Linked DNA regions of Homo sapiens: regions 1 and 3 are each linked to region 2. The links are contacts of gene promoters, found by promoter capture Hi-C in human tissues and cell types (Jung and others, 2019). All regions are on one chromosome and are shown on one strand. Each heading gives the region's core, a stretch centred on a gene start or on the middle of the fragment in contact. The rest is flanking DNA. Distances are from core to core; before and after follow the strand shown.

Region 1 (2,700 bases), core at 58-2,557, 96 kb after region 2:
CGTTAGGAAATGTGGCCCATAAAAGACCTAAATACATAACCGTCTACACTGGTTAACTCCCTCTGTAACAACACTCTTCAACAGAACAAAAACATTTCCAAACCTATTGTTGATCTTATTACAGTGAAATTCACACTATGAATCATTTAGTATACCCAGCACTTTTTTTCCAGGTTTCCCCATGCCATTCACCAGTATAACAAGAACAACAAAAGAACCTTAGCAGACTGTGTAAATAATAAACAAAGATAGGCAACAAACATAACATTAATGTATAAAATGCTTTTCATGTACTTGATAGCCATAAGCTTGCAATTTAATAAATACTTTGCATTTTTTTGTTAATTCATATGAAAAGACAAATACTCTTTCTTTGCTTTTACAAAAGTAAAATAAATTTTAAAGTAATGCATATTTTTTTTCCATTCGACAGGTCTAGGTTTGTAATATGCAGAATTTTTCATACCCAAGACAACCAAAATAAAGTTTAAAAATAAATAGGGCAATCTTTTATTCTTTGTTTTTTGACTTTTGCTTGTTTTTATCAAGCTTTTAAAGCAGGATGAGTCCTCCAAATCTGGGAGACCCACGGAAAGTGCATGTTAATCCAGCAGACTGTTAGTAACAGTGGACTGACTACCACGTTCCACTCCCTTGGTAAACACGCTGACTGATACTTATGCTGTACTAGTGAGTGCTCCTCTAGGCCTGGCATGTTTTTGCTCACACCAGGTGAGCTCAATGTTGACCAAAAGTCAATGTCTTTGCTCTGAAACCTGATGTGACCCTCGAATACTATGGAAACTGTTGAAACATACGTTGGAAAAGAAAATTGCTATTTCTATAAACACTTAAGTTGAATGCTTTGGAAAGACATAGGAAAGAGGGGTTACTTAAAAAATCTGCTGTCAAATTAGGTGTGAGTGAATTAACTCAAAAGTCTGCAAAATTAGGAGATAGGGAGTGGGGGGAGGTATTAAAAAAATCGAGAGAACTTTGCATTCAGGTAGCTTTGCTCTTCTCTAAGATAGGGAGTGGGGGGAGGTATTAAAAATCGAGAGAACTTTGCATTCAGGTAGCTTTGCTCTTCTCTAAAGAAACCCAAACTGGAACCTGAAACTGACACGTCATGGGTGTTGTTTATTGTAAGAAAGACCAAACACAATTCCTCTCAGTAGACCAACACTCAAAACAAAACAAGACTTGGGATATGTTGAAGGATTGGCAAATAAATGTCCATTCATATATTTTAAGTTAAAATGTTCAAGGTATGTATTGTTCGTTTTTAATGATCAAGGTGGGTAAGTGGGCTTCCAAATAGGGTGAACAGAAAATAAAGCAACTGACCAATGGAGTTGTACACAAAATAGATAAACAGATCTGAGAAAGTCTGCCTTGGCTCCTATCCTCTGAAAATATCCAGGGATAAAATAAATCAGAATTCGGCCTGGTGCGGTGGCTCATGCCTGTAATCCCAGCACTTCGGGAGGCCAAGGCAGGCAGATCTTTTGAGGCCAGGAGTTCGAGACCAGCCTCGCCAACATGGCAAAACCCTGTCTCTACTAAAAATACAAACACTGGCCAGGTGTGGTGGCACACGCCTGTAATCTCAGCTATTCGGAGACCGAGGCAGGAGAATCGCTTGAACCCAGGAGGCGGAGGCTGCAGTGAGCCAAGCTCACGCCACTGCACTCCAGCCTGGGTGACAGAGCCAGACTCTGTCTCAAAAAATACAAAATAAAATCATAGTAGAACCCGGAGGGCATGTCATGGCTAGGCTTTTATACAGTTTCACATTCTTGGACTGTATTTACTACCACAGAAGGAGGGTTTCAGGAAGCAGAAACAAAGGCAAAGTGATACCACTATTAAAGCCAGAAGATTTCCATAATAGCCCTCCCTCTTCCTCATCTTTCAGTATCAAGAGCCCAAACTCATCCTATCCCTGCCCCACAAAACTGCTTATAGGAACACTGGGGGAAGAGGCTGCCCGTTACCTTCTGACGCTGCTGAATGTTGGCCACAGTGTCAGGCTGAAAGTCTAGCTTGTCTGTGCGGCATAGTTTCCAGTAGAGGATGACAACAATCACCATCACCACCAGCACTGGGATGACCACGCCAACAATGACCCACAAGTTGTTGCTCTGGGATTCCGGAGACGGCCTCTTCACCCTGTCGACAGCTGCAGACAAGGAAGAAAGGTCTTTCAATAATTCCTTCTTCACTCATGCACTAGATTGCACGTGTCTTCTATGAGAAACTCAGAAGTCCCTGACATTCCAGCTCAAGATAGCTGGTTCCAGGTTCTAATCTCCTGATGACAGGAAATGTGACCAGCAGAGAAACACAACATACAATGTTACATCTAGAATACATCAGGGATCACAACGACATATGGATATATCCAAAGGTACATGGCTGAATTAATGGCAAAGCTCAGTTAATTCCAGGTCTCCTGATTTCCAGTTTATTCTACTAGCTCACCCGTAACTTATCACTGCAGGATATTTCCACACCAAAACTGGTTCTGCACAACTTTGTACAAAGGCAGTTCTCTTCAAAAGTGGAGAGAAAAACAGCTGTGTCTCCAGAACATAATCCTGCCCGCTCCATCAAGTACCGCAGGACTCACACCCTCCTAGATCACATAAAGCACATGCATCTCAACTAGGAGTTTATGGAAGAAAACCCTTCATCTCT
Region 2 (2,700 bases), core at 115-2,614:
AGCACCCAGCCCAAATGTCACTTTCTCTGTGAATCCTTCCCCTATACCTCTCAGGCAGAGTTCATCCCATCCTCCTTTTTATTCCCATCACAGTGGAAGGTACCCCTATTTGAGTCTTGCCAGGTTGCATCAAATTTCTTTCTTCCGGGTTTGGTTCCCTGCTGCACTGTGCTCTCAAGGGGAAGAGGCGTGTCTCAGTCATCTCAGTCTCCAGTGCCTAGGATGAGACCTTTTATATACATGTGGGTCTTCAATAAATGTTTTAGACGGAATGCAGAGCTCTAGTCAAGTTACTCCTCAGCTCAAAATCTCTACAGAACCTTCCCCTTTGCTTCCTGACTTTGTTTCAAATTCCTCTACCAGGCACGCAGAAGCTTAGCCCACAGCTCTCCTCTTGCCTCCCCACCTCACATGCCTTGGCTCACCTGCGCTTCTGGGTGCTGCTGGTACAGCCACCCTCTGACACTTCCTTACCTCTGGACCTTTGCTCATCTGTCCCTCTACCTATAATGCCATCTTCCCCTCTCCCCCTGTCAAAATTCTAGCCATCCTTCAAGGCCCAGGCCAAATGCCATTTTCTTTTTTTTTTTTTTTTTTTTTTTGGAGATGGAGTCTCCCTCTGTCGGCCAAGCTGGAATGCAGGGTCAGGAGCATCTCAGCTTACTGCAACCTCTGTCTTCCGGGTTCAAGCGATTTTCCTGCCTCAGCTTCCCAAGTGGCTGGGACTACAGGCATGCACCACCACACCTGGCTAATTTTTGTATTTTTATTAGAGATGGGGTTTCACCATTTTGGCCAGGCTGGTCTTGAACTCCTGACTTCAAGTGATCCACCTGCCTCAGCCTCCCAGAGTGCTGGGACTACAGGGTGAGCCCCCATGCCCAACCTCAAATGCCATTTTCTTCTTGAAGCATCCCATCAGCAGATGTGGCCTCCACTGTTGAAACCCACAGTGCTTTATCCTCCCAAGCCATTCCTCAAACACGGTTCTGGGGTTGAATGATGCGTGTTTGTAATTAACGCACTTCGACAGCAGGTATCTCCCAACTTCAGCATAGTGGGTGCTCAGTGAATATTGGCCCAAATGGAATTGAGCATCCATGCTACACCTGCAGATGGGAGAGGCAGCAAACTCATGTCCCAGGAACCAGCATGACACAGATCTCTCTTGTCCTCCCCTTGTTTCTCAATAAGGACAATATTTGCGCTCAGGGGAGAAGGGCACAGCTTGCCCCTCCCTTCCTTCCTCAGCCAACGGTTTGGCTTCCCTTCTAGAGAGGTGAGAGAAGGTGTGACAGGCCAAGTTTCCTTTGCTCCACCCCATGGTGTTTCCCCCAAACACCCAGCATAAGTTCACCTCTGGCAGAGTTGCTTTCCAGCTCCTGCAGGTGGGAGTCGACTCACCTGCAGCAGGCACTCGGCACAACTCCGCAGGACCGGCTCACCTGCACCGGGCACTCAGCACAGCCTCCAGCATGCAGCGCCTCCCCGCTGCCACCCGGGCCACCCTGATCCTCAGCCTGGCCTTTGCCTCCCTCCACTCGGCTTGCTCGGCAGGTAGCGTTATGAGCTTTATTCATGGCCAGGCTGGGAAGGGGGAGGGAAGGAGGGAAGAGAGGTGGGAGGGAAAGAAGGAGGAGGGGGAAGATTCTTTGGCCAGGGTTGGTCCTGCGCAAAGGAAGGAGGAAACAGAACTTTCTCATCTGAAGGATTAGGCAGGGGGTGGGAGGTGGGGCTGGGGCAGGGGGGGTCTTAGGTTGGCCTGAGACGGAGATCAGATACTCAATTCCTCAGCTAAGGCAGGAGCAGCCACCTCTCTTGGCCTTTGCCACAAAGAAAGGAAAAAGTTATTTGCTGGAGTCTCACCCATCAGGGGACCAAAATGATATCTCTTGGTCCGCTGTGTCCTGAAGGCTCCTTCTCAGCCCCACTGGGCTGTCGTGCTTTGCAATCCTCCCTGTGCACATTTGTGTCTGACCTTCCCTTTCCTAAGTCCTCCATCCCTCCCTGCCCCTTGTACTTTCTCTGCGACTTTCACAAAACCTGACTGCCAGGAGGGCTGCCATTCACTGTCTCCCACCCTCCTGCCTCCCCGGGCACTGGAAATGCTGGGTTATCTCCCCATTTTCCTGTGGAGGCTGGAAGGCTGATCTACATCCCCTGCCTTGCCCTGCCAGGCCGGGTTCTGCAACTCACGGCAGAGGGACCTTGGTTACCATCTTCTGCTCCTGGCTTTGATCTTGTTCTCAGCCACCTCAGAACACCACCACACTCTCTATGCCCTGCAACACTCCTGCTCCCAAAACCAACCCTGCCCCCAAAGTCCTGTGTCTGCCCCTCTCATCCTCAGACTCTCTTCTGTAGCCACTGCCAGGGGTGTTGGTGTTGAGGTTCAAGACGTGCACTCTTGAGCCGCTGAGCCTGAACCCAGGTCCAGCTTCCATGACTCACTAGCTATGCGACCTCGAGCAAATGACTTTACCTCTCTATGCCAAGTTTCCTCCTTTATCTCATGGGGACAATCATAGTGCTTGTCAAGACGAATTGATGTAATTTCATGTAAAGAACTTAGAAATAGCCCATAGAACACACACAGTGAATGTCAGCAATTATGGTAAGCACATTCATTTTATTTTCCAACTTCACCCCTCCCCAAATAAGAGTGCTGAGTTTCTTTCTACTTACCCCGACAGTGCCTTG
Region 3 (2,700 bases), core at 135-2,634, 70 kb before region 2:
CAACCAACAGCCGTGCATCCCAAGGGCCAAGGGAACAGGCCTCCACGCCGTCTTCAGGAGCTCCTGTTACCAGTCAGTTTCAGAGCTATCATCCATGAAGGCAGACTAGGAAAACCCTCTCTCCCTCCTTCCCTCTATTTAAGTCATCTGGTGGCGCAAAGGAGAAATCTACCACTTTGAGATCAGCAACTATTTAAAGAGCTTGTGTGGTACAAAGAGCAAGACAAGCTATTATTTTACAGTCCTGGAACTCAGGAGAGCCTGCAGTAACCTGGCTCTTGGCTTATGGACAGATTTAGTTCCTAGAAAAAAAAAATTACAATCACTTGAGGCCATGAGTTTGAGAGCAGCCTGGGCAGCATAGTGAGAGCTCATCTCAAAAAAAAAAAAAAAAAAAAAAAAATGCTGAGCCAGGCAGGGGGGCATGCCTGTTACTTGGGAGGCTGAGGCAAGAGGATGGCTTGAGCCCGGGAGTCGGAGGCTGCAGTGAGCTATGATTGTGCTGGTGAATAGCCACTGCACTCTGGCCTCAGAGACAGAGAGAGACCTTGTCTCTAGAAAACAAAACAAAACAAAAAAAACTTGCATCTACTTCTCCAAACAGGTATTTGCCACCCTCTTTGAAATACTTGGTCACCTGTCTGGACAAGCACCCACCTCAACAACCCTCAACCACCTTGCTCTCCCACCAGTTAACCAAACAATAACCAAGTCTTCCTTGCTTTGTCTTCCTCTTTATGAATACCTCATATAGATTACGTTTCAGCTAAGCTTTGGAACGAGTTCGGACTGGCATAAGGAGACAGTGGGAGGAGAGGCAGGTGACAGAGAAACAGAGCGTCACATAGGGACAAACTTCCTGAACTCAAGTCTCGTCATGTCTAGGTCCCTGACTCTGCTGCCTGTCCAGGTCAATATCCAACAAAGATCTCAGAAAAATAGAATTTAATCTGAACATATCTACAACCATTTAAAACATACACGGTCTCAGCACATTCCGCTTAATCTTTTGCACTAATAGAGGAAAGCAGAGAACGACCATCTCAAACCGTCTGTGTGTCAGAGCTAGACGCTGATGTCCTCTGGAAGGTTAATCTTACTAAATCCTATTTGGTTCAGGCTGATATTAAACTCTGCTTCACCCCCCTAGTACATCTAAGGCTCAGGGGCAGTTTAGACAAAAAGAGAAAGTGGGCTGAACCTGGTATTTGGCAACAGGGGAAAAATCACAAACAAACAAAAACTGACCTAATTGAATTTGTTTACTCTTCTAATTCCCTGACACAATCTGTAACATAATACAGTAAAGTCTCACAACTTTAGAATATTAATGAAAAAAGCTTTTAATATTTGTTTTAAAAGTAAAATCATAATAAAATATTATTTATAACTAATAAAACAACCACATTCAGACCCTTATAAATCATTAACTACCACGAGACTCAGCACACATACACCCTGAACAAAGTCTGTCAGACATAAGGTTTATTTTATTTTATTTTATTTTTTGAGACGGTTTTTCGCCCTTTCGCCCAGGCTAGAGTGAAGTGTGATCTCGGCTCACCGCAATCTCCCCCACCACCCTGGGCTCAAGTGATTCTCCTGCCTCAGCCTCCCAAGTAGTTGGGATTACAGGTACCCATCACCATGCCTGGCTAATTTTGGTGTTTTTAGTAGAGATGGGGTTTCGCCACGTTAGCCAGGCTGGTCTCAAACTCCCGACCTCAGGTGATCCACCCGCCTCGGCCTCCCAAAGTGCTAGGATTACAGGCGTGGGCTACTGCGACCAGCCGAGACATAAGGCTTAAACGTGTTTGCCCTTAATAGAGCATCTCGTTGGAAATAAGACGGCCCAGTGGAAAAGTCTAGCTCCACAGAACGAAACATACTCAGGGCGGGTCAGTTCCTCAACACCATTCTTCTGGCCCTGGCAGCCCAGGACGATTCTCTCTAAACCCAAGATTCATCTTTCCAGAAACCCACATTCTTATGCAAAGTAGGGTGAACTGAAACAAACAGCCCTTACCTGGGATTTCCGATGACTGGCTCTAAGAATAAACGGCTTAATCAGAAGCATCCACGGCACAGAAATCAAAGCCATAACCACAAAGAAACTTTGGACTTCTTGCTGCAAGACCAAAATGGCGAGATCTCATCATTTTCACATGGCAGAACAGCACACTTTACGTGATGAAAATGACCACTATGGGCCACTTCACTAGCACTTTATTTTGAGAGATCTAAAGCATTTCAATGAATCCATTCACCTTCACGCCTGGAATATTCCCCTTGCAGATAGAGAAATATCTGTCCAGTGTTTCCAAATGTTCGACACGGGGTAGACACTGGAAACTCTCTGTATTCCTTATTCTGAGTAGTCCCTTGTACCATACGTAACCAATCTTTTAAACAAGAAGTACGCATGAAACATTATAAAGGCACCCCTTGTCTTGAACTCTGTCCCATGGGGGTCGTTTTCACCTGGGCCTGCATGAAAACTATGGCAGGCCTCATGACTTTACCAGTCACTCGGTGGTACTCAAAAGTCCTTGGGTCACTTTAAGTCACAAACAGTATTCAACCGGTAATTTTATATTTTGAGTCCTAGAAAATTATCTGAGCTCTCTTGCTCCTATCTCTTAAAAAAGAAAAAAGAAGTTCCTCACCATCGCTACCTGACTTTCATCCCTTCCATGTGGG

What was found. The method cuts DNA at HindIII sites, captures the fragments that hold promoters and counts their contacts. A contact is called where the count stands out against the background at its distance.
Region 1: a fragment that was not itself captured here is called in contact with the fragment with the promoter of TMEM213 in region 2 in 5 of the 25 tissues and cell types used here (H1 embryonic stem cells, aorta, mesenchymal stem cells and 2 more).
Region 3: a fragment that was not itself captured here is called in contact with the fragment with the promoter of TMEM213 in region 2 in 2 of the 25 tissues and cell types used here (H1 embryonic stem cells and liver).

The regions. Positions count from the first base shown.
Region 1 is chr7:138,892,345-138,895,044 of GRCh38, forward strand. KIAA1549 reads right to left here. Exons shown (of 20, transcript NM_001164665.2): 10 at 1,998-2,182. Among named protein-coding and RNA genes, the nearest start is that of KIAA1549, 88 kb to the right of the region's middle. The HindIII fragment of the contact is 4,051 bases long and covers 1-2,700 here.
Region 2 is chr7:138,796,630-138,799,329 of GRCh38, forward strand. It overlaps TMEM213 (transmembrane protein 213), which reads left to right and starts at 1,365. Exons shown (of 3, transcript NM_001085429.2): 1 at 1,365-1,557. The coding sequence starts at 1,476. It overlaps ATP6V0A4 (ATPase H+ transporting V0 subunit a4), which reads right to left and starts at 1,567. Exons shown (of 22, transcript NM_020632.3): 1 at 1,405-1,567. RefSeq lists a silencer at 1,335-1,629. The HindIII fragment of the contact is 6,104 bases long and covers 1-2,700 here.
Region 3 is chr7:138,726,735-138,729,434 of GRCh38, forward strand. ATP6V0A4 (ATPase H+ transporting V0 subunit a4) reads right to left here. Exons shown (of 22, transcript NM_020632.3): 18 at 2,027-2,128. Among named protein-coding and RNA genes, the nearest start is that of SVOPL, 27 kb to the left of the region's middle. The HindIII fragment of the contact is 5,302 bases long and covers 1-2,700 here.